Linked DNA regions of Homo sapiens: region 2 is linked to region 1. The links are contacts of gene promoters, found by promoter capture Hi-C in human tissues and cell types (Jung and others, 2019). All regions are on one chromosome and are shown on one strand. The core of a region is centred on a gene start or on the middle of the fragment in contact, and the rest is flanking DNA. Distances in the headings are between cores, read along the strand shown. Region 1 holds the start of LYZL2 (lysozyme like 2). Region 2 overlaps ZEB1 (zinc finger E-box binding homeobox 1).

Evidence for each region. The method cuts DNA at HindIII sites, captures the fragments that hold promoters and counts their contacts. A contact is called where the count stands out against the background at its distance.
Region 2: a fragment that was not itself captured here is called in contact with the fragment with the promoter of LYZL2 in region 1 in 2 of the 25 tissues and cell types used here (dorsolateral prefrontal cortex and mesenchymal stem cells).

Annotation. Positions count from the first base shown.
Region 1 is chr10:30,626,752-30,632,730 of GRCh38, forward strand. It overlaps LYZL2 (lysozyme like 2), which reads right to left and starts at 3,002. Exons shown (of 5, transcript NM_183058.3): 1 at 2,842-3,002; 2 at 26-189. The coding sequence starts at 164. The HindIII fragment of the contact is 10,435 bases long and covers 1,262-5,979 here.
Region 2 is chr10:31,431,728-31,437,184 of GRCh38, forward strand. The region is part of intron 1 of ZEB1 (zinc finger E-box binding homeobox 1); the gene reads left to right. Among named protein-coding and RNA genes, the nearest start is that of ZEB1, 120 kb to the left of the region's middle. The HindIII fragment of the contact is 3,845 bases long and covers 1,490-5,334 here.

The DNA of each region.
Region 1 (5,979 bases), core at 1,752-4,251:
GAGAGCAGGAAAGAAATAATCTCACAGTTTCCAAGGCTGAAGCCCCAGTAATTGTCCAGGCCAGCCCTCGAGAATATTTTTGCCAGTTTGCAACGAGTGTAGATTTTGGACTCGGCGCCTGTGACCAGGCAGCCAATGAGGGTCAGAATGCCCGCAGCCTTCATCCTCAAAGCCTGCCGGAGACAGAACCTGCCAAAGAGCCGGAGAACAGGTCAGACGATCTTGATTCAGGAACTTCGAAATCCAGCATCGGTGACTGTGCACAGCCCTGCCTAGATGCTGCCTGTCACTTTGGTCATTCAGTGCCACCATCAGGGAAAACCGGCCACTCTACGGTCCAGGGAAGGAATGTGACTGCAGGCTGTCTCCTTAATGCTTTTCCATACAGTAACTTTCAAGTCAATGCTGTGTTCTCAGGGTTAAGTAAGTGAAAAAATTAACCTTCCTTAATACACATCCAGGTGAAAACCACAAGGGGCATTTTTAGGATTTCTATTTTAATTCTATGAATGAAAAATAGAATACAGGGGTGAAACATTCCCTATACTGCTGACCCTTGAACATCATGGGTTTGAACTGCGTGGGTCCATTTATCCGTGAATTTTCTTCTGCCTCTGCCACCCCGAGACAGCAAGACCAACCCCTCCTCTTCCTCCTCCACCTCAGCCTGCTCAGTGTGAAGACCACCAGGATGAAGCCCTTTATGATGATCCACTTCCACTTAACAAATAGTAAATATAATATAATAGTAAATATTTACTATTAACAAATAGTTAATATTTACAAATAGTAAATATATCTTCTCTTCCTTATGATTTTCTTAATAACATTTTCTTTTCTCTAGCTTACTTTATTGTAAGAATCCAGTATAGACATAGAACGTACAAAATATGTGTTTATTGGCTGTTCATGTTATTGGTAAGGCTTCCAGTCAGCAGTAGGCTATTAGTCGTTAAGCTTCTGGGGAGTCAAAAGTTACATGCAGATTTTCAACTGAGCAGGCATTGGCACCCCGACCCCTACATTTGTTCAAGGATCAACTGGGTGTGTAGAAACAGACACCCCATTTCAGCCAGAGATGAAATACACGTGGACCTGAATGGAAAACTTTAAGATTCATCGTCTAGGCCAGGCGCGGTGGCTCACGCCTGTAATCCCGGCACTTTGGGAGGCCGAGACGGGCGGATCACGAGGTCAGGAGATCAAGACCATCCTGGCTAATGCGGTGAAACCCCGTCTCTACTAAAAATACAAAAAAATTAGCCGGGTGTGGTGGCATGTGTCTGTAGTCCCAGCTGCTCGGGAGGCTGAGGCAGGAGAATGGCGTGAACCCAGGAGGCTGAGCTTGCAGTGAGCGGAGATTGCGCCACTGCACTCCAGCCTGGGCGACAGAGCGAGACTCCGCCTCAAAAAAAAAAAGATTCATCGTTTGGGGGTTTATTGAAGGGTGAAGATTAAGCACCTAATCTTTCCTTTTCTTTTCTTGATGCATTTCAAAATGTGGGAGCATTGCTTCCAAAGTACTAGTGTTTTATCTTAGATTGCAAATGCATTGCTTTGCTAAGCTTCACAACCAGTGCTCCGGGCGGCCTCCTAAAAGTCTGGCACCTGACTGGGGAGCAAGAGGGATGGAGGACAAAGCCTCATGAAAGGAGGAAAGCACCTGGGGGAGCAGAGGGACAATAAAGAGGCCCCCATAGAATCGTCTGAAATGGGAGTAGGATCAAGAGCGCTGTCTCCTGCTGCCTACTGATTTTCCACAATCTCCTCCCCTCTTAAAATAATGTCTTCCCCAAACACAACAGCCTTGCTGGGATGGGGTGAAGTGAAATTTCTGACAACTACTCGGGATCCTGAACTTGATGTTCTTACATATGTTCATCCCGTGTCATTTTCTGCACTTGCCTGGAAACTTCTCTAGTCATTAGTTTCTCTCCCTGGGGCTGGATTCCTGCATTGAAAGGCTAGGCCCAAAACAGGGATAAGTAGTCATCAGCAAGGCCACCGCACCGAGTAACAAGCAGGGCTTTAAGGTGACTAAGCAATAAGATAAGGAACTGCATTGCATGAGGGGCATGTACATTACAAACGTGAATAGCAAGCGTGGGCAAACCAGGCCCGCTTTTGTATGTAAAGTTTTATTGAAACATAGCTACTCTCATCATTTGGTAATATATTGTTGGTGGCTGATTTCCTGCTGCAGTGGCAGAGTTGAGTAGCTGTGTTAGAGGCTGTATAGACCACAAAGCCTAACATATTATTATCTGGCCCTTTTCAGAGAGATCATGCCAGTCCGTGGTGTACAGCATTGTGCTAAGCTGTGAGGGACAGACAAACGAGGTTTAAGATGCAGAGCTTAGGCTGGGCATGGTGGCCCACACCTGTAATCTCAGCACTTTGTGAGGGTGAAAAGGGCAAATTGCTTGAAGCCAGGAGTTTGAGACCAGCCTGGGCAACAAAGGTAGACCTCTGTCACTACAAAATACACAAAAATTAGCCAGGCATAGTGGTGTGTGACTGTGGTCCCACCTGTTTGGGAGGCTGAGGTGGGAGGATCTTTTAAGGCTGGGAGGTTGAGGCTGTTGTGAGTTGTGATTGTGCCACTGCACTCCAGCCTGGGCAACAGAGTGACATCCTGTTTCAAAAAAAAAAAAAAAGATGCAGAGCTTACAAATAAGGTTGGTTTCCATCCTCTGCCTTAGAATGTTAACTGATCTCAAACAAGTCAAAACAAAACCCGTAGCAATGATAACCCCAAGCATCATGTTCTACATCCTTCAAGAACCTGCCATTGCTGGTTCTCAGGGACAGGTGGCTTCATAAGAGTAATTTAGGTCTTACTGAAAAGGCAGATTCCTGGTGCCTGCCGCAGAGGCTGACTTCTCAGTTGAGTCTGCGGAAGAAACACTGCTCCACTTAGTCGGTGACAGGCAGCTCAGGGGAGCGTCCTGCATCCCCTGAAGCCATGTCTGATTCTAACAAGGCTCGAGTAATCCTTTCCTAGCTCAAGAACCTTTCTTTAGAGTGTTAGAGAAAGAAAAATTCTTAGTCCTTTGTTTCTCACCACCTAGAGATGCTAGAATTCTACTTCTTGGCACTAAAAGCTATATCATCCTGCACGCTTGTGTTCTGAAGCAGGTGCTAACTCTCTTCTGGGCCTTAATACCTCTCGTTTTTTCTCTTTTCCTCTCAACAACTGTCCTCACTACACAACTTGGCCAGGGCCTCCCGTCCAAGTGAGAGCTCTTCTCTAAGGCAACAGTCTGCAAACTTTATCACAAATTCCATTAATAAAGTTAAGCATGTATCCTCTTTAGATGTATATTAAATTATAAATCACACTTCTGTACCTCTGTACTAATATGCTACATAAATTATCAACATACACAAAACTAAAATCTGAAAATGAATGAGAGGTGAAATTAACATTAAAAATTAATTAACAGCACATTTCTTTGCTATAGTTATATTGTTAATTAATAAAATATTGTCAAAGGAGGGCCACAAAAGAAATAAAAAATTTTTATGTATAATTAACATGATTTCATTGTTTTTTAAAAATTTGGCTTAACACTTTGTGACTCAATAAAGAGCTAGTTTGAAGGTCCATTTATTTCTGTGTTCAGATTTAATGACACATTTGAAATGAATTCTCATTGGAATATGTAGATCTCAGTATAAGTTTGTTGTTAGTTGTACCTAACTAATTATTGTATTTTATTAAATTCCATCTGCAAATAATGCAAAGATCTTGTTGAAATCTAGTTTTAAGTTTATATAGTATTACATTGTGTAGATATAACATATTTAGCCAATTCCATATTGACTCACACTTAAGGTATTTTTTTCTTCTATGATAAACATATTACAATTAGTAATCTTGTACATTTGTCATTTGTACATTTGCAAGAATATCTGTAGGATACATTCCTGGAAATTGAATTGCTGGGTTAAGGACTGTAATTTTGTAATTTTGCTAGATATTGCCAAATTGCCTTCCACGTGGGCTTGTATGACGAAGATGGCTAGCATACCCTATTACCAAAGGTTAAGATATTTGCTAATATTAGAGATGAAACATAATTTGTCAGCAAAGTTTCAATTTCAGCTTCCCTTATTTCAAGCTGTCTGAGCATCTTTTCTTATCTTCAGAAGCCATTTGTGGACTTTTTTCTCTCTCTCTCTCTCTTTTTTTTTTTTTTTAATTGAGACAGAGTCTCCCTCTGTTGTCCAGGCTGGAGCTCAGTAGTGTGATCTCGGCTCATTGCAACCTCCACCTCGCAGGTTGAAGCGATTCTCGTGCCTCAGCCTCCCGAGTAGCTGGTATTACAGGCATGTGCCCCCACGCCCAGATAATTTTTGTATTTTTAGTAGAGATGGTGTTTCACCATGTCTGCCAGACTGGTCTCAAACTCCTGATCTCAAGCAATCTGCTCGCCTCAACCTCCCAAAGTGCTGAAATTATAGGCATGATCCACGGCATCTGGCCTGTGTGCTTTTTCTTGTGAATTGTCTATAATACGAGAAAATACATAGGTTTTTCTTCAAACATCTTTTTCAAAGTGCTTTGAAATAGGAATTTTATAGTCAATGAGAAAATAGAGACAGATTGTCTTTTTTTTCAAAAATGCTTGTTTAGCAAGTTTTCGGATACATAGTAAATATACAAAAGCCATTTCTATTCTTATATACTAGGAATCAAAATATTTTAGATTCTTCTAAAATAAAAAATATCATTTACAACAGCACACACAAGAATATGACGTACTTAAATGTAAACCTAACAAAATCTGTGCAGGATATATATTCTGACAACTGTAAGACAGATGAAAAACTAAAGAAGACCTAAGTGGAAAAGAAATACCATGTTCCTGAATTTAAAAATTCTATGTTGTTAAGATTTAATCTATAGATTTAATGGAATTCCAATTAAAATCCCAGAAAATTGTTTTGAAAATATCAATAAGATGATCTTAAAACTTATACGGAAGGGCAAATGGACTACAATAAACAAAACTATTCAGAAAAAGAACAAAATTGAAGGACTCATTCTACATGATTTTAAGACAATATAAAGCTGTAGTAATCAAGAGAGAATGATATTGGTGGGAAGATAGACCCATAGACCAGTGGAACAGAAGAGAGAACCCAGAAATAGATCTATGAATATTTAGTCAACAACATTTTTTATAAAGATGCTAATTAAATTCAATGGAAAAATGATGTTCTTTTCACCAAATGGTACTAAAATAAGACTGTCTATGCTCAAAACACATGTTCAAAACCAACAAAATAAAAGAAGGCATATTGAAGAATACATACCTTATATCTCATATAAAAATTAATCTAAAATGGATCAAAGACATAAAAGTAAAAAATGAAACTATGAAATTCTATAAGTAAACATAGAAAATCAGCAGGACTTGGGTTTGGCAATAACATTTTAGACACAACAACAAAAGCACAATCCATGAAAGAAAAAAAAAACGTTTAGTTGGACTTGATCAAAATTAAAAATGTTTGCTCTTTGAAAGACACTGTTAAGAGAATGAAAAGACTAGCTACAGACTGGAAGAAATATTTATAAATCACATGTCTGATGAAAGCCTTGTATTCAGAATATATAAAGAACTCTTAAAATTTTACCATAAGCAAACATATGACCCAATTAAAAAATGGGCAACTGATTTAAGCAGACGCTTCATCATATAAGAAATCCAAATGACAAATAAGCATATGAAAAGATGATCAATATCATTGTCACCAGGGAAGTATAAATTAAAACCACAATTAGATATCACTTCTCACTGATTAGAATTGCTAAAATCAATCAGACGACACCAAATGATGATGAAGACAGAGAACCGTAAGAATTCCCATTTATCACTGGTGGAAATGCAAAGTGGTACAGTCACTTTGGAAAACGGTTTGGCAGTTTCTTATAAAGTTAAACACAGACTTATATAAATCAACAATCAC
Region 2 (5,457 bases), core at 2,162-4,661, 810 kb after region 1:
TAATTTTAATACTTTAATGAAAACATTACTTTCAATCAGATGTACAGAACTCACAGGAAAACTTGAAAATTCTTAATTATAACTGTAAGACCTACGTAGTATAACTAACAGATAAAAGGATTGTCTTTAAATCTTTATGAAAACGTGAAATGAAGCAACATAAACATTAATTCATTGACAAAACAGTTTATTTTAAACACGTAAGAACAGAAAAGGTGGAGACTTGGTGGTTGTAAATTTGGACAGGAATATATTGAAATATCATGTGTATGTGGATACAGATATCAGTATTCTGGTTACTGCCCTCAAAAAGCATATGTTCTTTTTAAGGAGTTAACAAAGATATGATAAAATACTGAAAGAATAATACCAGTGATACTTAGTAAGTGCTAATAACTACCTTCAGAATATAGTATAGACCAACACTGTCCGGTAGAACTTTCTTGGATGAAAGAAATGTTCTCTATTTTATCTAATAGCCACTGGCTACCTGTGGTTATTTGAGCACTTGAAATGTATGCTGTATGAATGAGGAATTTAATTTTATATTTTATTTAGAAATTTAATTAACTAATTTAAGGATAGACATGGTGGCTCACACCTGTAATCCTAGCAGTTTGGGAGGCCAAGGCAGGTGGATTGCTTAAGCCCAGGAGTTTGAGACTAGCCTTGGCAATATGGCAAAACCCTGTCTCTACAGAAAATTTAAAAATTAGCCAGGTGTGGTACTGTGTGCCTGTGGTCCCAGCTACTCAGGAGGCTGAGGAAGGAGGATGTCTTGAGCCTGGAAGGTTGAGGCTGCAATGAGCTGTGATCATGCCACTGCACTCCAGCGTGAGCAACAGAGCGCAATACCCTGTCTCAATTTTTTTTTAATTCAGTGTGAATAGATACATTTGATTAGTGGCTAACCTTATTAAATTCTACAATTCTCAAAAGATGCTTGTCTCAGGAACCCTTCATTTAAAAGTGATTTACGGCCCCAGAGTGCTTTTGACTATGTGGGTTATATTTACTGATATTTACAGCATTAAAAATAGAAAAATTTTAAATATTTATTCATTCTTAAAGTTACTACATGTTAACATAAAATATCTTTGAGGAAAAGCTATTTTTAAAAAAGAGTGGCATTGTTTTACATGTTTACAAATCTCTTTAATGTGTGGGTTAATAGAAGGCAGTTGAATTCTCATATCTGCTTCTATATTCTAGCTGTTGCAATGTGTTGAACTGTATTAAAACCTAACCTCACATAGATAGTTAGTTGGAATTAGCCTTTTTAGATAATTGTGGATATTCTTTGATTACCAAAACTCACCAAGTAGCAGTTTCTTAAAGTTTAGTTGTGATGTAAAATATAAAACCATATCAATGAATTTTATAGTTACATTAAAAAATCACTGCTCTCTTGAACTTTGAGTGGGCCTTTTACCCACTTACTAATTTGCAACATCATGCATTAGTTATTTGGAAGATATTGGTTCACTGAATTGTCCAGATCTTCCAAATGTTGACACATTCCATTTTACCCAATCAAAAAATCACTAATAGCAGCACCAATCTCTTCAGAAGGGTCTTCAAAATTAGGAAATTGCAAAATTCAACTCAGCTGCAGTTAACATGTTTTCCAAAATTCTCATTTACATCTGAAAGCTCAAATTTTATTGGCAACAAATTTGGCCAATTTGTCTTCCTTTAAATGACAGGCTTATTTGGCTTATTTTTGAGAAAATATCTGCCAAATACTCAAACCTGAATAACCATTGTTTGTCAGTTGGTTATTCTTTCAAGTTAAATAGATGTACCATGAAAAAAGCAGCTACTTCGGTAGCAACTTAATTCCAGGAGTGATTTTCCATAAGACATCTGTTATACTTTGATGTCCAGCAGAAGTGTTTTGTGTATACATCCCATTTTGTTGTACAGAACACTAAAAAGACATACACTACAGGGTCAAAACTTATTAAAGTAATTTTTACTACTTCATCAAGGATGTACTTAAGTGAAACTGGCAAATTTTTTAACTGGAAATGAGTGGCAGTGAGGGCTACAAGGATATAGTTTGCTGCTGCTGCCTTGGTAAGTGCTAAGATGCCAACAGTTTGACCTACCATTGTCTTTGTATCATCAGTGCAAATGCCAAAGAAGTGAAAAGGGCAAGTACTGCCTTAGTATTATTATAAAAATGGTTTTGACCTTGCTGAAAAGACAATAATGGAGGAAAGAAATTGCTTTTAGTTCAAATAAGTTAAAGAAGACTCCATGATAAAGATCAATGTAATATGCATGCCCTACTTTATTTTTCTTTACCTGCTTTTTTCTATAAAAATAAAAGTAGGAAAGCAATTAGCATGTTAAAAATTATTTAACCATGTTACTTTTAAAATCATTCTTTGATTCAGCAATTATTTATTAACTATTTTGCATAAGTTATTTTTGTTGTTGATAAGTGGGCAATATGTAATGTTTAGAATAATGATCATGCCAATAAAGCATCTGTGCCCCCACTATAAAGCACTGCTATGTGCTGGGCACTGTGTTTATGTGCTTTTAAATGCATTCACGGAATCTTCATGGTAACCTTAGGAGGTAGGTTTTATAGAAAGTTAACTGGAATTAGTGCCAGCTCACAATTTTTATATAACTAGATAAATTACTTAACTTATTTGGATTTCAGTTTTCTCAAGTATAAAATACGAAGCTGAGACATATCTTCAGATGCTTAACCAGGCTTAAAATTCATTAAATAAACATATATTTCACAGCAGGATAACCCTTTATTGACACATTATCAGAATACTCTGAATTTTATTAGGAAGCCATAAAAACAATTACCAAATCATTAACATAAACTTTTTGAAACTTTATGTCCCTTTCATTTTAAAATTCGTTGAGTCAATACATTTTTCATAACACTTAATCCTTTACTGACACATGATCAGAACACTGAACACTTGACCAAAGACCTAATGATAGATGTGAACATAATGTAAACATGAAGGGATATAGTCACTATTGTAGCGGAATAAAAAATAATACAAAAGCGCAAAGAACAAGAGTCAGGAAAGGTCAAGAAGAGCATCAATAAAGCAGCAGTGTTTTAGTTTGTTCATTAGTTCAACAGATGTCTTATATGCCTTTGTTATGCCCTGTAAAGCTTGGAATTTAGACTACTGGAGGGAACAAAATGATGTCCTTGCCCTCATGGAGCTTACATTTTAGTGGGGGAGTGTGGTAGGTAGGATAGTGGCCTCCCAAATATGTCCATGTCCTAATCCCTAAAACCTGTGAATATGTTACATTACTTAAAAAAAGATTATTAAGTAGCAAAGGAATAGGGAGATTACTTCGGGTTATGTGGCTAGGCAAAATGCAATGTTAAAAGTGGAAGCTGGAGTTTGAAGAAGGGTCAGTGGCAGAATGATGCGACATGAGAAAGTTTCAACTGGCCATTTCTGGCTTTGAAGATGGAAGGGGCCATGTGCCAAGGAATGCAGCAGCCTCTACAAGCTGGAAAAGGCAGGAAAGTGGATTCTCCCCTAGAGTCTCCAGAAAGAACACAGTTCTGCCAACATCTTGATTTTAGTCCAGTGAGACCCATATTGGGCATCTAATTGTGAAATAATAAATGTATGCTATTTTAAGCCTCTTAGGGATATGTCAGTTTGTTACATCAACAATAGAAAACTAATACAGAGTAAAAGAAAGTAAACAAGTAACTAAACAAGATAATTACAAACTACGATGGATGCTTTGAAGGAAATAGGATGATGTGAAAGAGTAAAGGATAAAGCATGTTGGTTTAGGTGATCATGGAAGTCTTCTTTGGAACTATGACACTGGAGTGGAAAAGAAAGACCCAGCTGTGTGGAGTTGGAAACAGAATCTCAGGCCAAGGGAAAGGCAAGTGTAGGGGCATGGAGTAGAGAAGGCTTGCCATTTACAAAGAACAAAAACAGGTCATTTAGCGAGAATGAATAGAATAGTGGAAAAGGTGCAGGCCCAAAAATGTGGAGCCTTGCAGGAATGATGGAACAATGGAAAGCCATTGAAAGGTTTTAAGAAGGAGAGTGATACATTTTGCTTTACATTTTTGAAAGATCACCCCGGCTGCTGTGTGGTAAATGGAAACAAGGGACCAATGACATGGTATTGTAGTCCTGAGGAGGAAGTTTACAGGCGGAAGCAAACTAGTGGCATTGGTGCCTGGAGAGGATTGTTGATGATAGACGGGATATGAGTTCCAAAAGATGAGTAGGAATTTGCCCCTAGAGAAGAGGAAGAATACATAGCAGAAGCATGAAAGTTCAGGATGTCTGGGAAATTGAATATACTTTGCAGAACAGTAGCAAGTGAAGATGAAGAGATTGTTTAAGCGATAATGTATGCAGTCGGGAGACCCTTATTCGCCATGTATGGGAGTTTGGAATTTATGGCATATGCAATGGAGAGCCATCTGAAATTTCGAATCAAGAGAACAAAACAATCTCTTGACCTGAAGTTTTGTGATTATTATGTATGTCCTTCATTTTCATTCTGAAGTAAAGGAGAATAATAAGGGTGCTTTAAGTTTTATCATCTTAGATTCTGAGAAGTTCAGAAAGATTTGATTAAGTACTTGTCAATGAAGTCTTTAATAATTCATTGGGAACCACACTTTTATTCTGTTTTGTTTTTTTGTAAGGACTTTTTTTTCATTTATGGGCTCTACTCTTCTGCTGTCTTTGGAGAGACAGCACAGTAACCTGTTCAGAGCATGTCCGGAGCCACATGGCCTAGGGTACAGTCCTGGTTACCAGTACTAACTGGTCAACCTTTGGCAAGTTATGTAATCTAAGTCTTAGTTTCATTGTCTATAAAATAAGGATAATAAAAATTCTTCAAGTGGCTTCTGTAAGGATTAATGGATTCAGTGCATATAAAGCACTGAATATGTAATAAGCACTTTGTGGATCAGGGTTGAAGCAGGGTGCAGAAGTATACGAGGAGCATTGGTTGTAAGCTTTTCTATATATCAGTAGTAGAAATGTGACAGGTCATAATTTCTTTAAAGTACGTTTAAAATACCTATTTCCCACTTCATTTTTATATATGGTATTAAATTTTCTATTTGTTTGTGTTTTCCAAGAATGTCCACTTCTTTCATCACAAAGCCCACTTATTCTCCAAAAAGTTTATATAAGAAAATGGGTAGTTAGTTTGCATGATCTTCTGCTTTATTGGATATTATTTATTTTCTGGAATAAGTTATGTCCACAGATGATTTTAATTCACACTGCTACTCAGGTAACTTAGGTAAAACAAAACATCAGGATTTTTTGGTACTACAGTTCAAATTTATTTAACTTCCCAACAATATATTTTAAATAACAAAGAAACAAAATACTCAATTTTACCTCTGTTGCACATTAGCAAGGCATAAAAGAGAGATTAATATAATTAGGTAAGGATTCTTAT